4 separate regions of the Homo sapiens genome follow, and regions 1, 3 and 4 are each linked to region 2. The links are contacts of gene promoters, found by promoter capture Hi-C in blood cells and fetal thymus (Javierre and others, 2016). All regions are on one chromosome and are shown on one strand. Each heading gives the region's core, a stretch centred on a gene start or on the middle of the fragment in contact. The rest is flanking DNA. Distances are from core to core; before and after follow the strand shown. Region 1 has its middle 11 kb from the start of PLCXD2. Region 2 holds the start of DZIP3 (DAZ interacting zinc finger protein 3). Region 3 overlaps ABHD10 (abhydrolase domain containing 10, depalmitoylase). Region 4 holds the start of ATG3 (autophagy related 3).

Region 1 (4,270 bases), core at 1,532-4,031, 3.1 Mb after region 2:
CATCCAGGTCACACTGATGCAAAGGGTGGGCTCCCAAGGCCTTGGAAAGCTCCGCCCCTGTGATTCTGCTGAGTACAGTCCTCTTGGCTGCTTTCACAGGCCATCATTGAGTGCCTGCAGTTTTTCTAGGTGCATGGTGAGGTTGTCAGTGGATCTACCATTCTGGGGCCTGGAGAACAGTAGCCCTCTTCTCACAGCTCCACTAGGCAGTGCCCCAGTGGGGACTATGTATGGGGGTTCCAAGCTCACATTTCCCCTTTGCCTTACCCTAGTAGAGGTTCTTCCTGAGGGCTCTGCCCCTGCAGCAGACTTCTACCTGGACATTCAGGCATTTTCGTACATTCTTTGAAATCTAGGGAGAGGTTCTCAAACCTTAACTCTTACCTTCTACGCACCTGCAGGTCCAAAACCACATGGAAGCTTCCAAGGCTTGGGCTTGCACCCTCTGAAGCAACAGCCTGAGCTGTAACTGAGCCCCTTTCAGGCACAGTTGGAGCTGGAGTGGCTGGGATGCAGGGCACCATGTACCAAGGCTGCACAGAGCAGTGGAGCCCTGGGCCTAGCCCAGGAAACCATTTTTCCCTCTTAGTCCTCCAGGCCTGTGATGAAAGGTGCTGCTGTGAAGGTCTCTGAAATGCCTTGGAGGCATTTTCCCCATTGTCTTGGCTATTAACATTCAGCTCTTCTTTACTTATGCAAACTTCTGCAGCAGCCTCGAAAGTCCCCCCAGAAAATGGATTTTTCTTTTCTACCACATGGTTGGGCTACAAATTTTCCAACCTTTTATGCTGTGCTTCCTTTTTAAATATAAGTTCTAGTTTCAGGTTATTTCTTTGTTTATGCAAATGAGCATAGGCTTTAAGAAGTCACCAATTTACTTGCTTTGCACTTAGAAATTTCTTCTCCCAGATATTCTAAATCATCTCTCTTAAGTTCAAAGTTCCATAGGTTTCTACAGCAGAGGCAAAATGCCACCAGTCTCTTTGCTAAAGCATAACAAAAGTTACCTTTACTCCAGTTCCCAATAAGTTCCACATCTCCATCTGAGACAACCACAGCCCGGGCTTCACTGTCTATATCACTATCCACATTTTGGTCCATTCAACAAGTTTCTAGGAAGTTCCAAACTTTCCCTCATCTTCCTGCCTTCTTCTGATCCCTGCAAACTGTTCCAACCTCTGCTCCTTACCCAGTTCCAATGTTGTGTCCACATTTTCAGGTATCTTTATAGCAATGCCCCACTTCTCTGGCACCAATTTTCTGTATTAGTCCATTCTCACACTGCTATAGAGACATACCTGAGACTGAGTAATTTATGGAGAAAAGAGGTTTAACTGACTCGCAATTCCACAGGCTATACAGGAAGCATGGCTTGGGAGACCTCAGAAAACTTACAAACATGGTGGAAGGGCAAAGGGGAAGTAAGCAGGAGAGAGAGAGAACAAAGGAGGAAGTCCTACACCCTTTCAAACAAAAAAGTGAGTAGTACTTTTTTGCTACACACTTTTAAACAAATCTGTGAGATCTCGTGAGAACTCACTCACTATCACAAGAGCAGCAAGGGGGAAATCTGCCCCCACGATTCAAGCACCTCCCACCAGATCTCTCTCCCAACACTGGGAATTACAATTCAACATGAGACTTGGGTGAGGACACAAAGCCAAACTGTAACAGCCTTGGCAAAGAATTTTTGGTTAAGTCCCCAAAAGCAATTGTAACAAAAACAAAAGTAGACAAGTGGGACCTAATTAAACTAAAAAGTTTCTGCACAGCAAAAGAAACAATCAACAGGCCTAATATCCAGAATTTAAAGGGAAGTTAAACAAATCAACAAGCAAAAAACAACTCCTTTTAAAAAAATGGACAAAGGATATGAACAGACATTTCTCAAAAGAAGAGATACAAGTGGCCAACAAACATGAAAAAATGTTCAACATCACTAATCATTAGAGAAACACAAACCAAAATCACAATGAGATACCATCTCCCGCCAGCCAGAATGGCCATTATTAAAAAGTCAAAAAACAGATGTTGGCAAGGTTGTGAAGAAAAGAAATGCTTATACACTTTTTTTTTTTTTTGAGATGGAGTCTCGCTCTGTTGCCCAGGCTGGAGTGCAGTAGTGCTATCTCTGCTCACTGCAAGCTCCACCTCCCGGGTTCACGCCATTCTCCTGCCTCAGCCTCCCGAGTAGCTGAGACTACAGGTGCCTGCCACCACACGCCCAGAAATTTTTTTGTATTTTTAGTAGAGATGGGGTTTCACCATGTTAGCCAGGATGCTCTCGATCTCCTGACCTCGTGATCTTCCTGCCTCAGCCTCCCAAAGTGATGGGGTTACAGGCTTGAGCCACTGCGCCCAGCCGCTTATACACTTCTGGTGGGAATGTAAGTTAGTCACCGTGGAAAGCAGTCTGCATATTTCTCAAAGAACTTAAAATAGTGCTACCATTCAACCTAGCAATCACATTATTGGGTGTATACCCAAAGGAAAATAAATTATACTACCAAAAAGACGTGCAAATGTATGCTCATCACTGTGCCCTTCACAGTATCAAAAATATAGAATCAACCCAGTTGTCCATCATTTGTGGACTGGAAAAAAAATGTGGTACATATACACTGTGGAATACTATGCAGCCATTAAAAAGAATGAAATCATGTCCTTTGCAGCAACGTGGATGTAGTTTGAGGCCAAAATCCTAAGTGAAGTAATGCAGGAACAGGAAAAAAAAATACCACGTGTTCTCACTTATAAGTGGGAGCTAAACATTTAGCACATCTGGACATAAATATGGAAACAATGGACAATGTGGACTACTAGAGCATAAAGGGAAGGAGGAAGGCATGGGTTGAAAAATAACCTATCAAGTACCATGCTCACTACCTAAATGAAAAGATCTGTACCCCAAACCTCAGCATCACACAATATCCTCATGCAACTTGTACATGTACCCCTGTATCTAAAATAAAAGTTGAAATTTTAAACAAAAAAAAGGTATATTAAAAAGGGAGAGAGGACTATATTTTTCAAAAATGTCAATATAAAGAAAGGCTCTGAAAATATTCTAGATTAAAGGAGGCTAAAGAGACATGACAATTGATTGCAATACCTAACTCTAGATTGAATCCTGTACTAGAAGGGGGGAAATGGTATGAAAGACATTTATTAGATCAACTGACAAAATTAGAATATGGACAGATGACTAGATAAAAGTATTTATAACTCCGATGTTGTTATGTAAGAGATATTTTTATTCTTAGGAAATACACAGTTATTATTTAGCAGTCAAAGGACTATGATATAAATAACTTAGCCTCAAAGGGTGTGTGTTCATGTGTGCATGCATATGTATATGCATACACTTATACATACATACATGCATGTATAGATATACATGTATATGCATACAGAGAGAGATGGAAGCAAATGACAAAGTAAAGGGGGTAAATTGTTAAAGACAGATGAATCTAGGTAGATGGAATAAGTGTGTGTGTGTGTGTGTGTGTATGTGTGTGTGTGTGTCTTTTAATATTTTTACTTTTGCAACTTTTTTTGAAGTTTGAAATTATTTCCAAGTAGAAAGTTTAAACAAAAAGTACTTGAGCAAGACCCTAATGAAAGATTCTTAATTTGACTCAAAACTACCCTATTTTTCCAAGACTGCAACCTTTTTACAGTATGACAAAATCCAAAATGCTGTTTCATTGGCGTGGGGGGCAGGATTCTTTCTCTTTTCTCTGAGCATTGTTTAATCTGAAAGTTCAGAAAGAAAATAAGCAAGGATTCATCCCATAAGTTCGCTGTTTTTATATCATTTCTGGGTCTTATTCTACCCTAGGTATTGGCTGGGATCCACCAAAACTTCAATCAATTTTCCTTTCTTAAGGAGATAATTGGAGCCCTTTGATTTTCCCAAAACTCCAGAGCAAACTTACCCTCTCACCGTTGAACCATTTCATATCAAAGAAAACTAAGCTGTGTTTCTCCAGACTCCACCCAAGAAAGAGACTTTCATTCCTCCCTCAAACCCTTGGGCAGTGTTTTTTGTTGCTACTTTAGTAGAAACTACGGAAACAATTCACAGTTTACAGCAGTCCCTGCAGCAAGATCCCACACATGTGGCAGAACTGGGCAGACTCCTGCTCATCATTCCTACTTGGGGCTCCCCACACAGGAGCGGGGGCAGGAAGAAGGCTCAGCAATCACTTCTACAGAACCTCCTCCTACAGGACTTTTACCCATCACCCCAAATTTTGGGTACACAGCT
Region 2 (4,436 bases), core at 1,398-3,897:
ACATATTGCTAGTGGGAAGATAAAATGGCATATTTCAGAAAATTGTTTGGCAGTTTCAACTAAAACGGAACATATAGGCATATGTTCCAATGCTCTAACAATTCTACTCCTAAGTATATAAATGTGTGCATATATCCACAAAAAATGTATGTCTACAACAGCTTTATTCTTAATTCCACCCAGAAATGTAAACAACCCAAATGCCTATCAACAGGAAAGTGTATGTAAACTGTGGTACACTTATACAATAGAATTCTACACATCAATAATAAAAAAAATGAAGTAGCGGTACATGTGCAACATGAATTTCACAGATTTTATTGAGTGGAAAAGGCCAGACACAAGAGTACATATTGTATGAGTCTACTTACCCAAACCTTATGTGAAGAGGCAATGAAGAAACCCTATGGGGCTAGAAATGTTCTGTATCATGATACAGGTGGTAGCTACTCTACCTATATGTTAGCTACCAATATGGTAGCTATGGTACCTATATATTAAAAACTATCAAACTCTTCACTTAAGATTAATGCACTTTATGCTCTGTATGTATTTTATCTCTTAATTACAAAAAGTCCTTTTTAGTAGTAACCTGAAGCCAGTGCTCTTCATACCTTTGCAACAACGGTAGAAGAGTTTTATGTAAACCCCTTGAAAGTTTAGGAATACAGTAAAGACCCCATCCCATATTTTGTTTAAGTCTCTCTTTTTTTTTGTTTTGTTTTTGAGACGGAGTCTCACTCTGTCACCCATGTTGGAGTGCAGTGGAGCGATCTCTACTTATGCAACCTCAGCCTCCCGAGTTCAAGCGATTCTCCAGCCTCAGCCTCCCGAGTAGCTGGGACAACAGAGAGACGCCACGCCCAGGTAATTTTTGTATTTTTAGTAGAGACGGGGTTTCGCATGTTGGTCAGGCTGGTCTCAAACTCCCGACCTCAGGTGATCCGCTCGCCTCGGCCTCCCAAAGTGCTGGGATTACAGGTGTAAGCCCCTGTGCCTTAAATCTCTTTCAGTGCACAACCTTCCTGTTTATTCAAAGAAAGGTAATGCTTCAGAATAGCATACAAAATGCTTAACTCCCGATTTTTAAATTAAACGGACTGCCCTGCTTATTCTGCGGCTTCTGGAGCCTATGCTAATTCAGAAGCAAAGCCTTAAGCATTTAACAGCTAACACCTTAATTATTAGGTTTGCAGGCACTTCTTAAAATAAAGAATGAAAAAGAGAAAACAAATGTACTTAGGAGATGGGCACTTGAAGTAGGGAAAAGAGGAGCACCAGTGAAGCTCAAGATAAGACAGACACATTTAATACAACAGCAGCTTCACTAACAGCTGCTGTTGCTCTACTACTGGAAATCATTTTTTTCCTGTAATATTTTACAAATTTTTGGCACATTAGTCTTTTATCATAGGGTTAATATAATACAATATATTTTAAAATTATGTTCAATTCTACCTTAACAGAGGAAAGCTGTGACACAGAGAGTTAAAATAAGCCTTAATTGAGCTTTAAAAAAATTAAACTGAGGTCAATGTTAGTTTGAATTCCGTAAATGCAAAACAAATGAAAGCAGAAGATTAAGATCCTAAAACAAACGGAATCGTCTGGACACATATCACTAGAATAGAAAAAAAGGCAATTCAGCATTCTAAGATTAAAAAACTGTAAGCAATGTATTTTGGTAAAGAAAAAGGATTACGCTTACTAGGAAGGGGAAGTGCTTCTTAATGTTGAAATAATGTTTTTCAAGTTTGAGTTCAACCCGAGTTCAAGTAAGAGCAGTAAGCAACAAATTCAATTATAGATTACCGAAGGGCAAAACCAAGTTTTAATCATGACTTTCCGTCACTGAGAATAGTTGTGTATTGAGGGCTTGGTTTCGTAGAAAAACCAAAACTAGAAGCAAAGGAAAAGATAAAGTTCCGAGCTTTTTCCGTTACCTACTCGAAACAACCTGAACTTCCCAACCTTTTGCCCCACTCCCGCTTTTCCTAGAGCCTTCAGTGAGCGCTCTTGCCTCTCGCTGCGGCCAGCGGAACCCCGACACTCACTAGCCTTTACCAGTACGAAAAGACAACAGAGGGATCGAAGGACTGTCCTTTCTTTCCCAGGCTGGGGCCGCCACTCCTCGGCCTCACTGTGAAATAAGAATTGCTAGGGGAAGCCCCATCTGTCCTCTACCCCAGAGCCTCTCACCTCCAAGTGCCGCAAAAGCTGAGTGGCGTTCGCCTCTGACTTCACGGCTTTGTACTGACTGACAGTCAGGAGCAAGGACTTCAAGCAGGCAGTGGAGTCCATTGCACCGGCCGCGGCCCGGCTTAGGGACCACCACCGCCCAGCGTGCGCCGGCCTTTAGCTTTCGCCGCGCTTTTTTTGATTTTCGGCCCCACCCCCTCGCTCTCAGAAGCTTCCGGATCCGGTCGGGCTCCGGAAGTCCCTAGGCACCCTAGGGGACCGTTCTCGGTGACGGCCGGGGTGGGCCAGGGGTCGAGGTGATTTGTGGGTCCAGGACGGGGGTTGGGAGCTGCCCCCGCTAACCCACCCTCGTCTGAGAGGCCGCGAGGTTTCGGCCTGAGATCCCGTGAAGGCGAGAAATCTCGCGATTTCTCGGGAGAGGAATCGGTTAGGAGAAGGGGGATTCCTCACTCAGCTGTGCGCTCTGATTTCGTGCGCTTCCTCGTCCTTCATGTTGGATGGCCAGTTTTTCGTTTGTGCGTCATCCTCTACCTGAGAAATGGTCGCTTGCCCCTAGTCTAGACACGGTGAGGAGCTCTGAGGAGAAGAATCTTGGGCCCTAGATTTTGAGGCGGCCTGGGAGGGGCCTCGTTTTTAAATCTCTCCTACACCCGCCCCTTCTGCCCGGGGATGGTAGTTTCTCAGAGTCAACCTATTGGCATTATGTGGCAAATTAGTCATGCCCTGACCAAAGTATTTGTCACATTTATTCGAGAAGACTACCTCCTGCTGACCCTGGGCCAGGTATTGCTCCGGAGGGTGTTACTCGTTAGCGTCAGTTTTTGTAAGTGAAGGTGTCTGTTTCTCTCTGGCATGATTGATTGTTTTATAATTCTCGATGTCTACGAAAATGGCACTATTATTTGCGTTTTTTAAATCGGAGATAGCTTAATATTATTGCATGTGTATGTAATGAAGCGAGTCAGTTACTGGTTTTGGAGCTTTTTGCTTAATATTTCCTAACGTCGAATAAAGCTTTAAAAACCAGGATGTAGAAATTGTAAGAATAGGGTACATTTCCATTTAATTAAATCGTTTATCAGAAATCATGTTTTTTCACTTCAAAAGAATTTTTTTGAATTACTAGATTTTTGAAGACAGGTTTGGTGTTTTGGTTTTGTTTTTTATAAAAGTTTAAATCTGAAAGATAAAAATGATTTAACCAGTTGGGACATTCATGTAAAAATCTTTGGGTAGCTTGTGTGTTCATTTATGCTTTCATTCATTCCGTAAACAATTATAGAGCGTGTAACATGGGTTAGAAACTGCCAGTCAGGGAACAGAGATGAAGTAGTATCCCCTGCTGCGAGGGAACTGTCTAGTAAGGGAAACATACAAAATAGTACTTTTGAAATTCACCACATAAATGAGAGGCACCATGCAGTAACATGCAGCAGTGGTAAAGAGTAGAGAGCCAGGTTGCTTACAGATTCTAGCTCCACCTTTGACGATGTGACTCTAGGCAAGTTCTCACTGCTGCAGAATCTTCATTAGGTAAAATCTGGCCAAGGGAGATACCTGGTTCATAGGACTGTTCATTCAATAAGTAGTTCATTGAGAATCTACAATGTGCTAAGCACTTTTCTAGACACAATAGACTCAGTGAAAAAAACAAAAATACTACTGGCATGCAACTTACATTTTGGTAGGGAACCAAATAATAAACACAATAAATAAGTAAGGAAAATGATATAAAGAGAAAAATAGACGTTATTACTCTAGAATAATGTTGGTAATTGATAAGGGAAATGGGAAGGTGACCTCATTAAGAAAGCAACATTTGGGGAAATGCTTCAAGGAGTTGAGAAAGGGAGCCATATTCTATGGGAAAAGGTTTTTAGATAGAGGAAATGGCAAAGAAAGACCCTAAAGTGGGATACTGTATGCCAGAAACAAGGATGCCATGTGGCTAGTGTAGAAAGAACGAGGAGGAGAGGAGTAGAGATGAGGTCCTATACGGTCTTGGAGATGGTTAAAAAATGAATTAATGTAAAGTGTCAGCTGTCATCTGGCATAATTAAGTTCTCAGTGTTACAGTCAGTGCCTCATTGGCAAATGAAGTGATCAGAGTTTGATAGTGTTGGACTTTTCATCTGTGATGATGTGTCAGCATCGTCCCCATTCAGAGGCCCAGGGTAATGCGCAAAGCTGCGTGCTATCAGTGCCATCTTTGTTGGATTTTGACTTAAGCAGTCATA
Region 3 (4,826 bases), core at 480-2,979, 3.4 Mb after region 2:
GTTCTGCTTTCTTGCTGCACCCACTCAGTGAAAGAACCATAATCATTATTGCACAAAGGAAACTAGAATTTGGGCTAAAAATCAGAGAACCTCTTATATGTATATATAGTCTTTGAATTAGATCCTTTTATTTTTTTGGCTTTGTGTGTGGTTCACACCATTGCCACGTAGCTGTCAGATGATGCATGGTGCTTGGAGTGGTAATTAATGTCACGGCAGAGATCTTTTGTATGGAGATTTTTGTATCCAGTTTTTAAACTTTTATAATCAGATTAACTTGCATTTAATTGTGCGCAACCAAAAGGCATGTTACACATGCAAATACTCCTAGTAAAATGTAGTATGTCAATTCATTAACCAGAGTATAATATTATTTCATCTAGTTAGCACTTATTCATTGAGCACTTATGCACCAGGCTTTGAATTAATCCTTATGTTCAAAGATGATTTATGAATATAATTATATGAATCTGTCTACTTAGAACTTACATTAAATAAATTATAATCATCTCGGGGAAATTATGTTTTAAGAGGTGATTTCTGGAAGAGGATAGTGAGAATTTTTTTTAGTGCTCAGCTGAGTAGATGGGAAATGAACATGAGTGGATCAGCATAACTGGTCCTTACCAAAAGTTTTAAATTTGGCATATTTCTCTATACTTTGAAACAAGCTTTTATGTAAAAAGGATAACTTTAAGGCCTTCAGTTACATCTTTAAAAAATCAACTTCTTAATTACAAAATGGGGAAAACTTTAGCAGCACACATGGATTCTCTTCTCAAGACTGAGAAGTTTTCAAAGTGGAGGACGGCTTCATTTAATATAAAAAAAGAAAATGTATTAGTCCAAAGACTCTAAGGAAGTACACAAAACTAGTGTCTTTGGAAAGAAGAGGTGGGATTATAAATGACTCTTTTAAAAAAATATCTACTTGTTTCTTAAGAGCAAGTATAGATTTTATAATGGGGGAAAATTTGAAAAAGATGAAGTAGGATAATCTTATGAAGTTCACCAATTGTACTGTTGTACTTAAATTACACTAAAATCTCTGTGTACCATTTACAGAAAGCCAAACCAACAAAACGCAAAGTGATTGCATAGGTCTATAAGAAATCTCTTTCCAAAAACGATACTATCATATGTTGTTTTTAAAGAAACTGCTCATTGAACCCACCTCAGCTGACAATAAAATTATGAGTTGTTACCATGGCTCATGATTTCTTGGTTGAGGTAGGCGGATGGGTGGGCGGGTGGATGGGAGTCAGTAATAAAAAGGGCACAGCACGTCCTCCTTTGAAACAATTTTGCAAGGGCAGACCAAACCTGTTTCTTCCCTGACCCCCAAGAAAGTAGGGGATGAAAGGCCAGGCATGGTGGCTCACACCTGTAATTTCAGCAATGGGAGGCCAAGGTGGGAGGGTCACTTGAGCCTGGGAGTTTGAGACCAGTCTGGGCAACATAGTGAGACCCTGTCTCCACAAAAAATACAAAAATTAACCAGGTGTGGTGGTACATGCGTGTAGTGCAGCTACTGGGGAGGCTGAGGTGGGACGATGGCTTGAGCCTGAGGAGTCGAGGAAGTCCAGGCTGCCGTAAGCTAGGATTGCACCACTGCACTCTAGCCTGAGTGACAAGGTGAGACCCTGTCTCAAAAAAAAAAAAAAAAAAAAAAGAAAGAAAATAAGGGATGTGAAACTTGTCAAACAAAAAATAAATTTAAAAACAAAGCCAAAAATCTCACAAGAGAGGGCTGAAACTATTGCGGGTAAATCTGAATGTTGATTGATACTGTTTAGAATACATGATAAAGCAGTAACAAGAAAATGTTTTTCGATTAGTCTCTGTCTTTTGTTGTCTTGAAATTCCTACCGCATTGTGTATTTTGGAAGAATCAAGATTGGACTTTGCTCAAAGAAGTTACTGATGTTGGCATGATTTTAAAACTGGAGATCTCATGCACAGACTTACTTAGTACTTTGAGTCTGTTCTTGTTTTTTCTATTAAATGGAAATAGTATTTAACATCAATTCATTGAGATAAGAAAGTTAAGATCGAAAATATATATGGTTTTCCAAAGACTGAGTTTACAAACCATAGTTTACTTTTTGTGTACTTTGTTTAGCTTGTAGACAAAAGACGTCACTCTCATTCCTTAATCGACCAGACCTTCCAAACCTGGCTTATAAGAAGCTAAAAGGCAAAAGTCCAGGAATTATCTTCATCCCTGGCTATCTTTCTTATATGAATGGTACAAAAGCGTTGGCGATTGAGGAGTTTTGCAAATCTCTAGGTCACGCCTGCATAAGGTAGGAACAACACATTACTGAGAAAATATTGCTACTGTTAGCATTACAGTGGAGAATTACTTCTGTTCTAATCAGTTGAAGTAAATGCCAGCATTTTTATACATTATTTTAATGGTCTGTAAACTTGCATCTTGTGATTTAGGGTAATTTTAAAAGCAACCTTTAAAAGACCTTTTTTAAAGGCCTTTGTGCCACGCTGACAACCCTGGCAGAAAAGGACATCTTAAGGGAAATATTGGTAACTAAGCTCTTTAGAGGCAATAATGTATGTGACAACAAACAGATATACTAGTTGGCTTTCATACAGTCTCTTATATTATCATTTTCCACTGGGGACTTAAGGACTTTATTTGATCACTGTTTATCTAAAAGTAATACATGTATTTAAAAGTATCATAATGCAAATTTCTGCTGAGTTTTCTCTTCCCTCTCCTGTAATCTGAATATGTATAAGCATAAATAGGGATAAGTGGTACTTAACTCAAGCTTGATTTTATAATTCCTAATTTTTCACACTGAGAGTTATTTTAGTAAATAACTTTATGTTATTATAAGGTCTACCTGTAGCAGTTATATGTTTAGTATCCACTGTCCAGAAGAGATGGTATGATTTCGTAAAAAGAAGATTAGCCTGGAATTCAAGAAACATGAGTTCTAGAATAAATTCGAGCAATAACTATGACAAGACAAGTAAGTTAATAAACATTGGACCTAAGTTTGTCATCAAAAGAAGGAGGTTGGACTAGAGATAACTTCTGAGTTATTTTCTAGCACTAACAGCCTAAAAATCTATCCATCTAAATTTTTAGAAGAGTGACTCACAAACATTCATTCAATAATTCTAGAAAATACAGCTGTATATAAAACTTTCAGACTACCTGTTCAATATATTAGCAGCAATTATGTCAATTATAAAATTAAATAAGATTTAATCTTATTTCTTTTACCAAACTAATGAATTATTTTATTTTCATACTCAGAACTATGTTAAAATCTGTTCTGACTTATTCTGAAGATTGGAGTACTTTTTGGAAATAGATTCTCTAGCACTATACTGAGTGCTGCATAATAACAAAGAATTATAAAACATTGTACTTGCCTATGAGGACCTTTCATTCAGGGTGGGGAAACACAAGATAAAATACATGTTAGAAATTTGGCAGAAATACTCATCAGAATGTGATTGTGTCAAAAGAACAGTATACTTAATTGCATAAAGTTAGAGACAGTGGGATTGAAATAGATAAAGGAACGTTGAAGAATAATTCAGATTTGGGTGGGAGGGAAGTGCTGTCCAAGGAGGGGGACTGTCCTGAGCAGAAGATCATAATATCAAAAATATTGTTATCACTTTTCTTTTTTGCCACTGAATAAATTTGAATCGAGAAATCACCATTTTACCAGTTCTAAAATTTCAGCTTTGAGACTATGAGAGTTATAACCAGTTCCTGTCTCCCTATAAGACATAATGTGGCTTTTCTGCATTTTTGGATCCTGTGTGAGTATACCTTCATAAAGAATAGTGCTTAACTACAAATATTTAGTTTGAACAAGTTCCATTTTATTTGCTCTTATCAAAGTTCATCACAGTCTAATTATTGTTAACTATTGATTGCACTTTATTATAAGAGATTTTATCTTCTATTCTCTAATTTTTCAGGTTGCTTTTGTTGGGATTTTTTGCTGTAAAATTTAGATCTTCAATGATGAAATAGTTTATTACACAAGAAATAAAACATATGACTATATGAAAATGTTTTATTAAGGTCCTATCACCATGCCTAAAATAAGACTGATTCAGATCTCAGGAATATAACATATGGTTTTAAGGCTGGTATTCTCTCATAATTATTTGTAATAGAATTTTTATTTGGGACTACATCCCAGACTATTGAGGCTGCTAAGATGGAGATGTGCTACTGTTTAAAAGTTTTAAAGTGCTGAATATGTTTGGATTATCTTTGTCTCTGGATTGGGGTTCAGTGAGAGTTAACTATATTTTTTTAATGGTACCCTGTTAGTATCACCAAGTATTTATATTTTCCTTCATGAAGGAGCTGTACAAGTATTTTGCATCCTCACCATATATTTGGAAGGCAGCTAACTGTAAAAGATGCCACATTCAGCCATATCCAATTGCCACCTATGAAGAGAGAAAAGGAGAAAATTAGTTGGTGTCTTTCCCCCTTTTTTCTTCCACCCCTTCTACCCATCTCTTACATACCCTGGATTGAGGGGGAAACAGTAACTGATTTAGACTGCACCAGTTGCCCTGTTCTATTTCCCAAGGATCCAAAATCGTTTCACTTCAAACCTAAAGAAAAATTTAATTTCTTCTCTCCCCTATTTCTCATAAATCCCTTACTTACTGTACCAGCCATTCCACCAAAAAGGTTCATTTGAACTAGGCTCTGGGAAAGGATATCAGTAAAGAAGGGAAAATATATCAGTAAAGAAGATGATGGAAGAAGGTATTCCAGGTAAAGGAATCAACAGTGTGAGATGTGAAACACATAAGAA
Region 4 (4,796 bases), core at 782-3,281, 4.0 Mb after region 2:
TGGAGTTTCACTCCTGTTGCCCAGGCTGGAGTGCAGTGGCGCCATCTTGGCTCACGGCAACCTCCACCTCCCGGGTTCAAGCGATTCTCCTGCCTCAGCCTCCTGCCTGTAGCTGGGATTACAGGCATGTGCCACCATGCCCGGCTAATTTTTGCATTTTTAGTAGAGACAGGGTTTCTCCATGTTTGTCAGGCTGGTCTCGAACTCCTGACCTCAGGTGATCCACCCGCCTCGGCCTCCCAATGTGCTGGGATTACAGGCGTGAGCCACTGCGCCCGGCCAAGCTCTATGTACAAACATTCTAAGATTTAAATAAAAATAAAGCCTTACAGTGATTCTGTGAAATGAACAAATACCTTTATTTTACAGCACAGCAAAAATGTCTTAAAGATGTTTAGACATCTTACAATTCAGCCAGTCTTATTTAAACTGAATAATGTTAGAAACCAAATCTAGAAATTATTTAGCATTTTCCTCTAATTCTCATCTCCACCAAGATACTGACACACTATTCTCTAAATTTTTCTAAACTTTAAGTTATATGTAAGATTTTCTGGTAGAGTCTACAAAAATGAAAACACTCATTTATAAACATTATTCATTCAACAAATGTTTACTATGTGCCAGACACTATTTGAGGCAGTGGGGATATTTGGGGGTGAATAACATAAATACAAATTTATTCTTGCCCTCATAAGGAGTTTCAACTCCAGTTGAGGAAGAAAAGCCAAATGGTAATGAATAACATACCATAAAGAAAAATGAAGCTGAGAGGAATCTGTGGGGTGGCTGGGGAGAGATGGCCATTTAAAATAGAATGGTAAGAGAACAAAGACTTCACTGAATAATGACTTAAAAACCTTAAGGAAAGGAACATGCCATAAGGCTGTTAAGTGCGAAGCGCGTTTCAGATAGAGGGAAGAGCACATGCAAAACCCCAAACCAAGAGTGTGCTTAACAGAATAATAAAGAGATCAGGTTAGCTTAAGCAACAGCAGTCAGGGGATGGAGCAGATGAGATTGGGGCCTCTACCAATTAAGCAGAACCTTAGAGATGATTGTAAGAACTTCAGTGTTTACTGCATGTACATACTCCAAACAAAACATGATTTTTCTTAATTTTTACTTGCTAGGAGAAGGCTATTACTTATTTCCTGAGGATTTTGTTCTTTCTCCTTGCCCTCCCTAAGCAGGAAACTGTAAGGATTCTCTCTGTAAACAACAGTTTGCACAGGAGTATCAAGGAGACGGTCATTCATTCTTTCCTTTTTACTAAAGACATATACCATACATACTGACATGCCAACAGTTCCTTTTCAGTTTGGTGAGCAAGTATGATGGACTCCTGAAAACATAATTCTACATCATACATTTTATATTTCATTTGGGCAGTCTCTTGCTCCTCTCTCCCGGAAACTAAAAAGTTGTACAATGGTGTATTATTAAAATACTGTATACCTAGGTAGATATGATATTCTGAAAAGTTAACATAATTATGTAAAAGCATTTGATTCAAATGTGAAAATTATTTTCCAATCTTAGTTTGACTGAATAATCTTAAAATGACTTTCACAGTAAACAAATGTAAGCAAAGCAACAGTTGAAATTCTCATTTATAATCGCTGGTTTATTTCTTACTTGGCCAATAAGTTATTCTTTTAAAAGGAGCTTTACAAAAACGTATTTTAAAAAGTATAGACCTAGTACTTCCCTTTGTCATGGAAAGGGAGCAAAGCAAAACTCTCCACTATTCTTAGCATATTAAGGTATTTCACCCCCACACTGAGATTGGTACATTCTAACTGAAAGCTTAAAAACAACTAGAAAAAAAAAACAAAAACTAAGCAAGAACTTCCCATTAATTTACTATTCTTGCTCACTTTTCAGAAAGCAAAAATGAAGTTACAACAAAACACTCCAAAAGAGTTATAAAAGAAAAGCTTGAAGGCAGTTGTAGAAATTTACCTTTAAAAAAAAAATCAGTCACTACTGTAACAGCTAATGTGTCACAATTTTTTACTTTAAAAATGCTGTACTGTTGCCAATATATTTTTAAAAATTATACAGCCAGGAAGGTCAAACCGTGCCTTGTTATCACTAATAACCAGCTACGGCTATCTGAAAAGCTTGGGAAAAAGGTTTTGCTCGTTAGATGGGTTCAAGGTTACTGAATGAGATAATGTTGCCAATTTCACCTCCTTCCTCTGAAATCTAAACGAGTTGGGATCGCAGTCACAACTTCCCCACTACAGCGGACTTTCATGAAACTTAAAGGAAAAGTGACCTCACCTCAGGTCTCTTTTGACCTCTGTGTGTCAAACACTAAATTCATTTTTTAAAGAGAAGCAAAATCCTTGCTTAAAAAGGCTAAAAGACTTCCAGTGTTTGGATTTAACGTTCTTCAATCTACTCAGCCTCCGAACACCCTTCCAACCCGACGTACCCGACCGCGCAGAGTTATGACGGGAGAAGGCAGGAACACGCAGAGCGTCGCTCCAAGTTTACCCCTGAGGAGTCAGAAAGCCCTAACGAACAGCCGGTTAAGACTACGGGTGGGGGCTGCACACTTCCCTGTGTCTCGAGCCCTACTGCCTTCCTACACCTTGCCCCGCCGGAGAAAGCGGGGACTCCTGCGGCGCCTGGTCCCTGAAAAGTCGAGCATGTGCCTGACAGCTCCCGGCAACCCTGGCCTGGCTTACCTTGAGGACCGGGGTCAGGTACTCAGCCACTTCCAGTGCCTTTCCCTTCACAGTATTAATCACATTCTGCATCCTGGGGCCGGAGTAGCGGCCGGCCCCGCGACGGGATGGAAAGTGCAGCCGTGTCAGGGGCCAGGGAGTCAGAAAATGTCCTCGCTGCCACCGACTCGCATCAGCACCCGGCTGGCAGCACCCGAGGGGACGGGACGCGACGCGACGGGACGGGCGGGACGAGGGGGCGGGGCGGCAGGCACAGCGCGCGAAGACGGGGTGCGCGATCCTCGCACCCCAGGCAGCCCGCGACGGACCGGACCCAGCTGTCACCCAGCCGCGAGGGAGGGCAGCGGGGCCGAAGGGAGACCTGAGGTGAGAAGCGGACGCACACGCACCCCTCGCCCTCTGCGAGCTGTCTGTCCTCGCTTTGCTTCACTCGCGCCCCTTCCGGCTTCCCTTCCTTCTCACTCTCTTGCCGTAGCTGCGCCGCCACCGGGGCCTCACGTGACACTAGACTCTCCCGGCACGTGACGTGAGAAAGGGGCCGGGCTGGGGCGGGATAAGCCGCTTCTCCCCTCCTTCCGGAAGCGTAACACTGAACGTGCCTGCGCAATGGGTGTCGGGTCCGCTTTTTCCCAATCCGGACGTAATCGTGGTTTTTGTTCTGCAATAGGCGGCTTAGAGGGAGGGGCTTTTTCGCCTATACCTACTGTAGCTTCTCCACGTATGGACCCTAAAGGCTACTGCTGCTACTACGGGGCTAGACAGTTACTGTCTCAGCTCTAGGATGTGCGTTCTTCCACTAGAAGCTCTTCTGAGGGAGGTAACCGCGCCCCGCGGGCAAGGAATTGCGCCTGCGTCTGAGGGGAGGGTGCGCCAGTGAAGAGCCCTACTGCGCATGTGTGACTAGAAGGGTAGTCCCTGACTGTGAAGGGAAATCTGGCCCCCTCCTGTCGGGGAGGCGTCCTGTAGGCGTGCGCCCAATGGGGCTGTCAGTATTGGCATTTCTCCCCACTCCCCGCAGGCTCTATGCGCTATTCCTACAGTACGCTGGGAGGCTTTGGGCAAGTTACTTACCCAACCTGGGGTTTAGTGTCCTCAGCCTATCAAAAGAGGGCCTTAGATTCATTGATTTCTACGATCTCCTCCATTTCAAACACTAACTAGTTCAGTAAAACTTTACAGCAGTGTTTCAGATATTTCCATTTTGGTCGTTATTGTAATGAAGTCTGTCCTAATAAGCTTTTTCCTCCGAGGGAAAAGAGGAGGAAAATACAATTCTGAAAGCCTTATCTTACAGCAAAATTATTTACTAATAAGAGTAAAAGCGAGGCCGGGCGCGGTGGCTCACGCCTGTAATCCCAGCACTTTGGGAGGCAGAGGCGGGCGGATCACAGTCAGGAGTTCGAGACCAGCCTGGCCAACATAGTGAAACCCCGTCTCTACTAAAAATACAAAAATTAGCCGGGCGTGGTGGCGGGCGCTTGTAGTCCCAGCTATTCTGGAGGCTGACGCAGGAGAATCGCTTGAGTCCGGTAGGTAGGGGTTGCAGTGAGCCAAGACCGCGCCGTTGCACTCCAGCCTGGGTGACAGAGCGAGACTCCGTCTCAAAATACATAAATAAATAAAATTTAAAAATAAAATTCAAAATTGCTTTGAAGAATTCTTTTCTGCTGTTGCAAAGTGTCATTTGCTCACCTGCTACCTTTGTCAGCAGGTCTAATCTGGTTCTACGTTTTCTGTCTCCAGAGTACTCCCTCTTATCAGATTTTCACTTTCCTTTTGTCATAGTTTCTTTATGCCTCAACTTTCTTGGTGCTGATATAGTCATAGCCAAAATTTTTTAAAAATTCCTTTTTTGTCCTCACGATCAATGGTATTTGCGTTTAGGGTCTGCCAACAAGGTCGTTCATGAAAGTGTTTTTCTCTTTAAGGTAATTAAAAAACAGTGGAATGGAAAAACAGTGCTGTAGTCATCCTGTAATATGCTCCTTGTCAACAATGTATACATTCCTGCTAGGTGCCATATTCATTGCTTTAAGCTCAAGTCGCATCTTACTAGTGAAGTATTCTGCCAATGAAGGTAAGTTAAGACTTGGTATA

The links. The method cuts DNA at HindIII sites, captures the fragments that hold promoters and counts their contacts. A CHiCAGO score of 5 or more calls a contact.
Region 1: a contact is called between a fragment that was not itself captured here and the fragment with the promoter of DZIP3 in region 2, in 1 of 17 cell types (total B cells). The highest score is 5.9, in total B cells.
Region 3: a contact is called between a fragment that was not itself captured here and the fragment with the promoter of DZIP3 in region 2, in 6 of 17 cell types (fetal thymus, total B cells, naive CD4 T cells and 3 more). The highest score is 7.3, in fetal thymus.
Region 4: a fragment that was not itself captured here is called in contact with the fragment with the promoter of DZIP3 in region 2 in 1 of 17 cell types (fetal thymus); the score reaches 6.6 in fetal thymus.

The regions. Positions count from the first base shown.
Region 1 is chr3:111,661,686-111,665,955 of GRCh38, forward strand. It overlaps a transcript of CD96 not described here. Among named protein-coding and RNA genes, the nearest start is that of PLCXD2, 11 kb to the right of the region's middle. The HindIII fragment of the contact is 4,726 bases long and covers 419-4,270 here.
Region 2 is chr3:108,587,075-108,591,510 of GRCh38, forward strand. It overlaps DZIP3 (DAZ interacting zinc finger protein 3), which reads left to right and starts at 2,648. Exons shown (of 33, transcript NM_014648.4): 1 at 2,648-2,765. CIP2A (cellular inhibitor of PP2A) reads right to left here and starts at 2,364. Exons shown (of 21, transcript NM_020890.3): 1 at 2,200-2,364. The coding sequence starts at 2,301. RefSeq lists an enhancer at 2,563-2,842. The HindIII fragment of the contact is 803 bases long and covers 2,409-3,211 here.
Region 3 is chr3:111,979,662-111,984,487 of GRCh38, forward strand. ABHD10 (abhydrolase domain containing 10, depalmitoylase) reads left to right here. Exons shown (of 5, transcript NM_018394.4): 2 at 2,123-2,306. Among named protein-coding and RNA genes, the nearest start is that of ABHD10, 3.0 kb to the left of the region's middle. The HindIII fragment of the contact is 2,121 bases long and covers 670-2,790 here.
Region 4 is chr3:112,558,758-112,563,553 of GRCh38, forward strand. ATG3 (autophagy related 3) reads right to left here and starts at 3,205. Exons shown (of 12, transcript NM_022488.5): 1 at 2,700-3,205. The coding sequence starts at 2,771. SLC35A5 (solute carrier family 35 member A5) reads left to right here and starts at 3,288. Exons shown (of 7, transcript NM_017945.5): 1 at 3,288-3,516; 2 at 4,628-4,776. The coding sequence starts at 4,647. RefSeq lists enhancers at 1,967-2,776, 2,777-3,586. The HindIII fragment of the contact is 186 bases long and covers 1,939-2,124 here.